Regions from separate parts of the Homo sapiens genome. Here region 1 is linked to region 2. Evidence: promoter capture Hi-C in 16 types of primary human blood cells and fetal thymus (Javierre and others, 2016). All regions are on one chromosome and are shown on one strand. Each heading gives the region's core, a stretch centred on a gene start or on the middle of the fragment in contact. The rest is flanking DNA. Distances are from core to core; before and after follow the strand shown. Region 1 overlaps DOCK4 (dedicator of cytokinesis 4). Region 2 holds the start of LSMEM1 (leucine rich single-pass membrane protein 1).

Region 1 (6,056 bases), core at 1,832-4,331, 570 kb after region 2:
ACTGAATGTTTTTAAAAATAAGTCACCTTTGACTGGTTTCATTTTCTATCACTAATATAGTAAATATAGATGGGAGATATTTTTGTCCTTCTTATTTTAAAGCATAGAGGCCAGGCGCGGTGGCTCACACCTATAATCCCAGCAGTTTGGGAGGCCGAGGAGGGCAGATCACAAGGTCAAGAGCTCGAGACCATCCTGGCCAACTTGGTGAAACCCCATCTCTACGAAAAACACAAAAATTAGCTGGGTGTGATGGCGGACGCCTGTAGTCCCAGCTACTCAGGAGGCTGAGGCAGGAGAATTGCTTGAACCCGGGAGGCGGAGGTTGCAGTGAGCCAAGATCGCGCCACTGTACTCCAGCCTGGGAACAGAGCGTGACTCCGTCTCAAAAAAAAAAAAAAAAAAAAAAAAAACATGGGGGAAAGGGTGGGAGGTGGGTGAGGGATAAAAGACTACAAATTGGGTTCAGGGTTTACTACTCAGGTGATGGGTGCACCAAAATCTCACAAATCACCACTAGAGAACTTACTCATGTAACCAAATACCACCTATTCCACAATAACCCATGGAAATAAAAAAATTAAAAATATAATAATTTGGCTATCTTAAAAATTAAAACATAAGAAGATAAACAAAGAAGGAATGAAAAAGCTGAAAGAGAAGTGCTATCTTTGGAGTATGCATACAGACATATTCACAATGATATGACATTAAAGTTTTCTGTACTTCTTGCCTGGAAATTGAGAAAATAATATATGATAAAAAGTGTTTTGCATCTTCTGTATATCCAGCTAAGGTAATGTCCTTATAATTGGGGTAAAAATAATAATTTTTCCTACTTTACTGACTAAATTCTCTTTTCTTTGTCAAGGTGTCCTGTATTCTGCTAAATTCTCCTCACTAGAAAATCATGTCATCATGAGTTTCTACTGTATATATTATTAATATAATCCTGGTTTCATTATAATCGGCTTTGTTACTTATGTTTCAAGAAAATCTCTATCAATATCCTTTAAATCCTTAAATTAATATGTCTTCAGATTTGTGTTCATGCTTTTGATATTTGATAAGCAACTATTCATAGGCCTTTTGTTTTGTTTTGTTTTGTTTTAAACCTCCCATTTTGATGTCAGTATTTTTTAGGGCAAGGTGACCTTCATCTACTTCTGGAATAAGTGTTGGCGCAGGAACGTGCTCCACCAGACTAGGGTTGGAGGAGAGATTTGGGGGTTGGAAGCCAGGCTGCCTCTTAGAGTTCTGCTCATTTTCTCCACTTGCTATGAACCTCCTTATGAATGGGAAACTCAGATGTTGAAGTTGGAAAAGTGTTATTCAGATATGATTCATATAGATTCTGTCGATTTCGTCGGAATATTAACCCTTAGTTTAAAACCATGATATTCTAAATTTGGGCTTGTTGCAACACATCAGTTTCTCTTTATTCTATTTCTATTCTGTTTTTAACTCGGGTATCTCTCATCTGTTTTAGGTTTAGCAGTTTCCTTACAGCTATTGCACGGAGACATTGAACAAATCAGAAGGGAATATTCATCAGTATTTTCTCATGGAGTATCCATAACAAGGAAGCTGGGATTTTCAAATATTATTATGCCTGGTAGGTGACTTGGGACGTACCGATATGATGAAATATGGGTATACTATCTGTTTTTGATGTTTGAGAAATTTTTCAAATTGCCAGCTTTGAAGCATTCACATGGGCCATGCTGAAGAATGAAATGAGGTATGTGACTGTAAGTAAGCACATTTTTTTCTAAAATATCCTTTTCAGTTTAATTTTAAAATATTTCCTTTTGTATAAACTTTCTTGTCAGTGATTTGAAGCTCAAAAATGTCTTTACATTCTGATTATTCTAAAGTTGTTAACTTGTGGGGGCCATGGCTACATTTCATTATGACCAGGAGAAGGAGGAAAACTGAGTTACTGTCCAGAAAATATTGTACTCCTTGATGGAAAATGTTGGTGAAGATGCTTAGAGGATATCCTAAGTTTTGATAAAAACGTACTGAACACTAGTTAGCCATATGTAAATAAGCAGCCATATGCAAATATTATATGTACTTCTATACCTTTTCTAGATCTATTTGTGTGTATGATTTAGATCTATATTAGTGCCCCCAAAATTCCCCAAAAGTAGAAAAGATGTGGGTTAAGCAGTTTTACAGTGTGACATGAATGCCAGATTCATTGAAGCTGATGCATTTGGGAGTGGGTCAGTCGTAATCTCTCCACGAAAATAAATGTTTAAAAGCACACCCCTTTATGTGCTTATGGAAATTTAGGGTTTTCTGAGTGTGTTCATCTACAACTTATGAATTGGATAAGAATAGTACGTTTGCTGATGAGGAAGGATGTGTGTTTAGCAAAAATTGATTTAGTCAGTCAGCAGGCATTGATTGAGCATCAATCAAAACTTTGTGCCAGGAGCCAAAAGTTAAAAAGATGAGTTCATTCATTCTACAAATAAATATTTAGCACTTTCTATGTACAAAGGCATTCTTCCAAATACTGGGGCTATAAAACTGAACACAACAGAAGAAACCCATAGGACTTACTTTGTAATAAGGAAAATTATAATAAATATGTAAGTAAAACATGTATGTTCAAAGATGATGAATGCTCAGGTGAAAACCAGTGTAGGTAAAGGGCTAGGGAATGTCTTAGAGGGTAGTGGGTGGAGAGATGGAGATTTGTGGTAGGTAAGAAATTTAGGTGAGAAGGCAGTAGAGTAGAGACCTAAAAGACATGAGGAAGCCGTGCAGATAAGAGGATTCCAGGCATAGCAACAATAAGGGCAGTGGTCCTGCAGCCATAGAATCGTGGCTTGTTTGAGGAACTGCAAGAAGGCTAACTTGGTCAAAATACAGTACTGGGGATGGGAATGGAGATTCGAAGAGGGAAGTCATGTGGACCTTGTAGGTCACACTCAGCACTTTGGGTCTTATTCAGAATGAGAAAGGAAACAGCTAGAGGGTTTGGAACAGAGGTGTGACACTGCTTTACATTGCCACAGGATCACTGTGGTTGCTGTATAGAGATTATACCTGGAGGGAATATGGGAGGGCAGCAGAGAAACAGGGAGACCGGTTTGGAGGCTGTTTGAACTAATCCAGGTAAGTGGTGATCATGGTGTTGAGCAAGGTGTTAGCAGTGGAGATGGCGAGAGTAAGACCTGTTTATACTTTGAGGGGGATTACAGTCCACAGGCAGAGACACGCTGTAACCCGAAAGGAGTTGGAGAATGCAGCATGGAGAGCACAGAGGAGTTGTAGAATCTTATTGAAGGAGTCTCGTTAAAATTTCCTGAGGAGGTAACACCTGAGCAGGGTCTTCAATGCTAATGATTCTAGGCCCACATCCCCCGAGTCTTTGTTCTCCACTGCACTAATAGCAAGTACCTGCTTTAATAGTGAAAGACTGTGTAGTCATAGCCAACATGGCTGTACCTCTGATGTTTCTTTTGTTTCTTTGTTTGTTTGTGTTTTCTTTTTTAGAGATGGGGTCTCACTCTGTTGTCCAGGTTGGTGTGCAGTGGCACAGTCATTGCTCACTGCAGTCTCAAACTCCTGGGCTCAAGTGATCCTCCCACCTCAGCCTCCTGAGTAGCTAGGACTACAAGCATATACCACCACACCTGGCTAATTAAAAAAAAAAAAAAAAAATTGTGGCCGGGCGCGGTGGCTCATGCCTGTAATCCCAGCACTTTGGGAGGCCGAGGTGGGCGGATCACGAGGTCAGAAGATCGAGACCATCCTGGCTAACATGGTGAAACCCCATCTCTACTAAAAATACAAAAAATTAGCCGGGCGTGGTGGCGGGCGCCTGTAGTCCCAGCTACTCGGGAGGCTGAGGCAGGAGAATGGCGTGAACCCGGGAGGTGGAGCTTGCAGTGAGCGGAGATCGCGCCACTGCACTCCAGCCTGGGCGACAGAGCGAGACTCTGTCTCAAAAAAAAAAAAAAAAAAATTGTAAAGATGGGATCTCCCTATGTTGCCCAGGCTGGTCTCTAATCCCTGGGCTCAAGTTATCCTTCTGCTTTGGCCTCCCAAAATGCTTGGATGATAGGCTTGAGCCACAGTGCCTGGCCCACCTCCAATGTTAAAAGGAGATTTCTGGCCTGACGCAGTGGCTCATGCCTGTAATCCCAGCACTGAGGCTGAGGCGGGTAGATCACCTGAGGTCAGGAGTTCAAGACCAGCCTGGACAACATGGTGAAACCCCGTCTCTACTAAAAATACAAAAAATTAGCCGGGCATGGTGGCATGTGACTGTAATTCCAGCTACTTAGGAGGCTGAGGCAAGAGAATCGCTTGAACCCGGGAGGCGGAGGTTGCAGTGAGCCAAGATCCTGTCACTACACTCCAGCCTGGGCAACAAGAACGAAACTCCATCTAAAAAAAAAAAAAAGGAAATTTCTATGCTCTAAAAAATTTTAATTTCTAAAATTCTGTGAAAGTCATAATTTTGTGAGAGAATAGCCTTTTAAAAACTTTTGAAGTTTAAAAGCAAAAAAAAAAGAAAAAGTCTAATTGTTATTTAGTAATGAACCACTAGAGTTCTAGAAATTTCACACTGTCCCTAGGAACACAGGGCTATGACCAGCTGGGGTTATCTTCAACAAGCCTTGGTTCTGTCTATACCTATCTATTTCTTTGTGTGTGTCTGGACCTCTTATTTTCTTTCTCTTTTCCTTTCTGTCTTGATCTTAATCTTTCTTTTTCTTCTTATCTTTCCTCCCTCCTCCATCTTCTTTCCTTCTCCTCCTCCTCTTCCTCCCCCTCTTCTGCTTCCTCCCTCCTCAGAATAGGACTAAGCTACACAGGTTATTGTGGCTTACATTTAAAATTTTTTTGACATATCCTCTTGTTTTTACAAATCAAGAAATGAGTTTTTTTAAGTCATGAATTTTATTATAAAAGGACCTCACTTGTGTTTGATCTTCCATAGAAACAAAGAGCTTCTGCCCTTTTGTCTACAGATAGAAGATGACGAATAGCATACTAAGTAGTAGTATTTCTGGGTGCTCCATACCCCACCCTCCACAACCAAGAAAAGGGAAAAACAATAGACCAAATAAAATACTCTTAAATTGTTGACAGTATTTGTTTTAAATGAGGTCTTCTAAACCACTGTTTAAATCCCATGTGTAAGTGCAAGCAAAGGAAGTTGTATCTGACAAGGCACCTGGCATAGCTATGAGACCCAATAATGAGATTGCTATGAATAAAGACCTAAAATGACCAGTATCGCCCATTGCACCATTTTGTAATTGCCCGACTGAAATTCCTTCATGCAAGGAAGGCTGAGAGAACATCCTGTAAGTTTTCCTCAGATGACCTGACCTAGCTTAGGGACCCAGTCAGCCTGAGCATCTCATGGTACTGTTGTCGAAAATGACTGTTTATAGAACTGTTTACTTGGTGGCATGCTATTCTGTGGCCCTTGCAACTGTCCATTATTTCCTTCAGTTGCTATAAATAACTGGTATTTCCTCTTCAACAACAAAAAAAATTCATCCCACTGGGAAGCAAATTGATGGGCAAATCTAATATATTAAAAAAAAAAACATTTTAGAGCAGAATGCAGCCAGCTGCTGGAAGAATTCCTCAGCTTGGTCTCTGGGCAGTATCATGGAGAAATTGAAAAATATAAAGCAAGATGACACTTCACTGGCTGATTAATTGTCTGGGATCTGCTGTGCTCACGCAGCTTTTGTGTGGCTTTAATGATGGGCATGAACTTCTGTGGAATAAGGCTCGTTTCTGTCCCTTTCCGGTACCACCTTGTAATGCGAAGTCTACACTGTCCAGGAAAATTGTTCTTTCAGACATGTGTCTGTAGTTCAGGGGAGTACAAAAGAGGTTTTTTTAAAAGCACTTCCTTCTCTTTTTTTTTTCCCTTTCTTCCTCTGGCTTTTTAATCTTCCATAATAGAAAAGGGAGAGATGTGTGTATTTCCTTAAACAACTGAAAGCAACTTTAAAACTCAGTGGAATTTTTTACACTAGGAAACATGCAATCATTGTTTTGTTTTCCTT
Region 2 (6,157 bases), core at 1,510-4,009:
GCCTGGCAGCAGAGCTGGAATCGGGCCTTTTGTTCAGCATTCAATGAGTCTTGCTTTGTGCTACTTTTCTTTTCTATATCCCTTCCTAATCCTGCCTCAAGACTCAGCTCAAACATCACTTCCCCTAGGAAGAGAGAACCAACCTGTCTTTCCTTTTGCCTTTGCTGGATTCTTTACATTCTTCTATCAGAACATCTGTAGTATTTTATTGCATCTATTTGCTTACATCTTTGATTTCCCGATAGACTGAAAACTCCTTAGAGTAGGGACGAATCCTATTCTTCAAATGCCCAGTGCCAGGTTTAGAAGTTGGTGACTTATGTTAAGATGGAACACCTGAAATGTTTATTTAGGATTTAAATCTCACCATTTTCAAAAGAATTGGAGGCAGTTAATAATAAGTACATGAACAGAAATAAGATTGAGGATAAAAATCCTCATGTGATGTCTATCTGGACTCTAGTAAAGTCAATGCGATAAATATGGTGCCTGTGTGTATTTGACAACACACTGTTTACTTTCTGTTGTTGCAAAAATTTCCTTTAAAACTCATCTACAGAATGAAGAGCAATATAGAGTTGGGAGAAACCAAATTCATAAAAAAAAAAAAAAAGTATACACCTAAAGAAGATGTGGGGAAAAAAAGTATCAGACACTTACTGAGCAATTTAAACTTAGTCTAAAATATTAAAAAAACAATTTCCCAGTAATACCTAAAACTACTGGTACTTGTGAAAAATGTGCTACCAGAACCCTAGCTAAGAAAGTGAGCTCAAAAAGTCATGGACTAAAAATTTTTTTTAGGGTTAAAACTAAAAAAGTGTGTTTCACTTATCTTGAAATTTTAATTAACAAGAACAAACAATTCCCTGAGTTTTCAGATAAGATACTACCATAGCACTTTATTGACATTACTGAATTCCAAATATACTTCATAGAGCATTCCTAAGGAAATGACTTGATATGACAATTAAAAAAAATTAAAAAGCAGCAGCAAATAGAGTAAAAGGGCCTTAGAGGTCAGTCAAATCTTATCCTTTTGCAGTTAAAACCAAGGCCCCAAAATATTCACTCATGCATAGTCACAGATTTTAAAACAATTCTTTTAGATGTGTTTCATATTTTATCATCCATTTATACTAATATTTGACCAAACAGTAATATGTGACCAGGAAAAAAAGTTTTATGTGTCACATCACAGGACCACTGTTCTGCACACAGCTTCTATTTTAGGTGTGGTAACTGAAGCATGGTTCATTTTTGGATCTCTGACTTAATAGCCTTGAGCCTTAGCTTCCCCTTCAGGAATGTATCTGCTGTTGCTTCAATTTCATACTGAGGCTTAATCAATGTTTACAAAATAGAGACCTAGCTAGAAAATCATGGCCACAAAAACTGACTTTAAGAGTACAGCTAATAAAATCTCCATATTACTGGTCTTGCTATCTACTCAAAAGGTGACTCCAAAAAAAACTAAGACAACAACCTAGTGAGCCATGACGTGCTTTGAAAGAAAATGTCTTCTTTAGAGTGAAGTCACAATGTAAATATATGCTATTCCAATATTTTTTTAATGAGCTGCAACACGCAAATGGAAAAATAAAGAACTAGCAGAGAAAACTGAGTTGGGTGCTGTTCCAGGGCTCCAAGAGCCTGCAAATGACTTGCAAATGACTCATGAGGCTGCTAGTAAAGGGATACAAGATCACATGGCCTTAAAACCAGGCCCCACGGCTGTTTGACACCCAGTAGTTGCTATCTTTGGCATCTCCAAATGAGGGCATCTAGGAACAACCAGCAAGGCTGGAGAAGCCAGTGTTACTAGCAATTCTTCATCACACTAACTTGACCCTCCTTTCAACTCCAGTGTGCAAATTTGCTTATTCACCAAGATTGGCTAAAGCAGCATCCCTTTAACAGAACCCTTTCTTATACCTTGACTGGAAACATGTAAGTAATTTCATTTTCCTCTGGTTTAGATCACTGCTAACAGTTGATTTTTTGTCATTTAAGAATTCTTTGACTATTTACAAATAAATATTCCAACAAATAAAGATAATTGTCTATGAAAAATTGCCTGGTGCTTTATTTTTTAACCAGGCAGGTGCTTGGTATCAAACCACAGAAATAACTCACACCAGTATTGCTTGCCACAAAATCAGAATTGTTATAATAGGGCATAATTCAAAGCTAATAAGCAGTGTTATTGAATGAGTCATGGTAATTTGTTCTTTAATTTCATTTCCCAGTCAATGCCTCTTCACATTCAGGAAGTAATTTTTAAAATCAAGTCTAAATCATTTCTATCAAAAATGAAAAACACAGAGCACATGCAACAAAAACTTCCCAGACTCGAGAATCATAATTCAGTCTCAGTAGAGTAATAGCATGCAAATTACTTACAAAAATGTGAGCTTTGACTGCTAGGTTACCAGAAAAACAAAACAAAACAAAACAAACAAACAAAAACTAATTGTTCAGAAGCAACTACAACAAAACTTTTCTACAAATTCTGTAGTTCTCTCTTTGCCTTTCTTCAGCATACGGGTGCTCCTATGAGACCCATAAGCCCCAGGATGAAACTGTTGGTCTATATTGTGTCAATTTAGCCAAGCAGTGTAAGATTCCAAATCCTGACTTTTTTCATAATGTCTAAGGTTTTTAGTAAATATATTACTAAAACTATGCTTTAAAAAGAAAACAACAAAAAAACACCATGCCCTGATTTAGTTGGTAACTGATGAGGTTTTTATTGGACTGAAGTTACCGTCCTTATCTGGCTGAAGCAACTGTTAGCTGACACCACCTTTCCAGCACTCCTGCCATGGTATGCTTCCATATATAAATATCCTGTAGCAGGCGGAAGCTGCCACTATGATGACTGACTTGCAAACACTCCAGACAAACCAGAGAACTGCAATAAACACGGACAGAATATGATTATGACATCATAACAAGGATGATGGCAGGTCAGACGCCTAGTGCTTCCAGTAGCTACAAAAAGCGATTGTGAGTGGGCGATTTCATGGATACAGACCCACCACAGGTGAAGGAAGCACTCCATCTCATCGGCCGCCTTTCCTTTACAAAGGCTTTGTTCTGTGAGTGTCTGCACATCCTCCTTTCTCAGGAATAACAGCCTTCCATATATGTGGTTCCCTCACATACATGCCAAGGAGCTTCTGCCCTCTGCTGTACATAAAAGATGCTACAGTGATGAGGAGACCAACTATCTCAGCAGGATACTAACAGTGAGGTTGTGAACAACTGTGCAATCCTTTATCATCCTCACTTCCATTGCCATAGCTTGATGGACATTATTCATCTTTGAAACATTTTTCATGTCAGTGAGAAAATAGGTGTTCCACAAAATTTTCTTTGAGACAGAGTCTTGCTGTGTTGCCCAGGCTGGAGCGCAGTGGCATGATCCCAGCCTACTGAGACCTTCCTGCTTCCAGATTCTCCTGCCTCAGCCTCCCAAGTAGCTGGGATTACAGGTATGTGCCACCATAGCTGGCTAATTTCTTTATTTTTAGTAGAGATGGGGTTTCACCATGTTGGTCAGGCTAGTCTTGAACTCCTGACCTCAAGTGATCCACCCACCTCGGCCTCCCAAAGTGCTGGGATTACAAACTTGAGCCACCATGCCCGGCCCAAAATTTTCTTTACACCTATATCCCATACGGACCTCACTCTGCTTTGGGGGAAGAGGAATGTCATTTTTTTTTTCCCTTCACACTACCTAGTCTAAGAGGGAATGTCATTTTTTCAAGCCTCATCTGTACCCAAAGACTAATTCTTGGAGGAAGACAATATAACTAGTAACTTTTCTCAGAAACATACGTTAAAAAGCTATGTCAAATTTCTCTGAATAATGAAAATGTTCATGTTAGCTATTATGCTGTTTTTAAGAAATCTCCCAACTACCTGATCTGCCTTGAGCCATGTATCCTTTGAAGATATAATAGAAGTAACTGCCTCATTTTGGGGCGTTTACTACTTTTCCTCTCCTGTAACTTCTAACTTTGTGGAATATTAACTTCCCCTGAAGGAGGAAGGAAATGGAGACTAAGGAATTTAATTGTTGAGGGATACACTGATTATAAGTGGCAGAGATGAGATGTAAACCCATACCTCGCATTCAAGTCTGAATTGAACTATACACCAGTGAGGGGGATAAGACTGCCTTTAGACCAGTTAGACTTCTGGAAAGCCACTTAAGAACAAAGCAAGACAACCTACTTCATTTTAACTATAACATACCTGCAAGACCACCTTTAAGAAGAGTTTTGGGGCCGAGTGCGGTGGCTCATGCCTGTATTCCCAGCACTTTGGGAGGCCGAGACAGGCAGATTAACTGAGGTCGGAAGTTCGAGACCAGCCTGACCAACAAGGAGAAACCCCATCTCTACTAAAAATACAAAATTAGCCGGGTGTGGTGGCACATGCATGTAATCCCAGCAACTCAGGAGGCTGAGGCAGATTATACCATTGGACTCCAGCCTGGGCAACAAAAACGAAACTTCATCTCAAAAGAAAAAAAAAGAGTTTTGGGTCACAAAAAGAGATATTCTCACATGAAGTGTCTAATCTAGGGACATTCTCAAGTATTTGCTTTTTCTTTCATATATTACATCTCAGGGTATCTAAATTCACTCCCAGGAAATTTAGTACCCATCAAAGAGGAGTCACAGACAATGAATACTTCAAAATGCTTGAGCCTCAAAATAATGAAAGCGGGCAAAATTAATCAAGAATCAAGCAATGAACAACTAGTCTATAACACAACATTTTTCTACTTTCAAGAAAACACAAGCATTCTTACACATTGAACACCCAGCCACCCTTGTCTAGCAGTTACCACAAGTTTCATGAATAAAGTCACCTGCATATAAATTCAACATGCAGATTAACACTCTATACCTTCTTCCTCCCAAAAGCCCAGTAAAAAAGCAGGAGTACAAATTACAAAACCAGAAAAATTAAAATAGGAAGAAACAATACTGAAGAGCTCAATAAATGTATTGAACATGGTAAGAAGAGTGGTATCTGCCTTAGCAGGGCTATCACAGATGAGTGACAGTAGGACTGATCCTGCAGAATTCAGGCAGGCCTAGGATTTAGAGGCAAGAGTGTGGCATGGAGCTACACAGAGGCAAGTAATTTAATGCTAGCCAAAAACAAAATGCAATACAAATTGGAAAATTGTCTTAGAGAAATATCCCAGACAGAAAAAAAAAAAATAAATAAGGCCCAAGATTCAATTTGGGAGCTCCACTATGTCATAGAGTTCCAGAACAAAGAAAATGAGGAGGAAGAGAAGAGATGAAGAACTTAATATTTTCCAGGTTGCCAATCCCACCAAAGCACAGTATCATGCAATTTTAGAACACTAGAAACAGAGATGCTGAGAAAACAAAGAAATAAAAATAAAAACTGCATCAGATATCTCAAGATTTTGCAAATTAGAATAGAGCAATGCCTTCAAAATTCTGAATTTGAATACACTTGTCAAAATTTTCAAAAATTCCAAATTTGATTTTCCACCTAGAATTTCCATGCAAACTATCTTTCAGAAATATGAAGTCACTAAATAACTGACTGATCTCTCACGCACTCATTCCCAAGAAACTACTGAAAGAAGTGCTCCATGTTAACAAAGAAGTAAATTAAGACATGGGATCCAGAAAATGAGGGATACAATTCAAGAGAAAGAAAAACAAATCCTCACGATAGTGCTGTCTCAGGAAAACTGCTATACAATTGGATGAGAGAAACTAGTCTAGATTGAAACAAGTACAGAATCAAGAAAAGTTGTGACAAATTTATTTGGGACTGTTTGGGAAGAATCAATGATGTGCATAAAAAGCCAAAAAAAAGAGCATTAACTCCAAGACAAAACGTTGTATGAGAATGAAAATGTAAGCACATTAAATTAATTCACGAGTGAACATACAAGTATGATCACAGCTATGCAAACAGGTACATGATCTAACCAAAATAATATTAGAAGGATGTGAAACAATAAAAGAAATTTTCACCTGTCTTAATAGTAAGTTGACAAACACCTAAAAAATAAATGGCTGTATAATCATATTATTTAGAAACCTAAAACCAAAAACTGAAGGCTGAAAGAACCGAGCTAGAAAAAACTGAA

The links. The method cuts DNA at HindIII sites, captures the fragments that hold promoters and counts their contacts. A CHiCAGO score of 5 or more calls a contact.
Region 1: a contact is called between a fragment that was not itself captured here and the fragment with the promoter of LSMEM1 in region 2, in 1 of 17 cell types (neutrophils). The highest score is 5.5, in neutrophils.

The regions. Positions count from the first base shown.
Region 1 is chr7:111,911,338-111,917,393 of GRCh38, reverse strand. It overlaps DOCK4 (dedicator of cytokinesis 4), which reads left to right. Exons shown (of 53, transcript NM_001363540.2): 13 at 1,490-1,615. Among named protein-coding and RNA genes, the nearest start is that of DOCK4-AS1, 110 kb to the right of the region's middle. The HindIII fragment of the contact is 8,358 bases long and covers 1-6,056 here.
Region 2 is chr7:112,477,593-112,483,749 of GRCh38, reverse strand. It overlaps LSMEM1 (leucine rich single-pass membrane protein 1), which reads right to left and starts at 2,759. Exons shown (of 4, transcript NM_182597.3): 1 at 2,404-2,759. The HindIII fragment of the contact is 7,612 bases long and covers 1-6,157 here.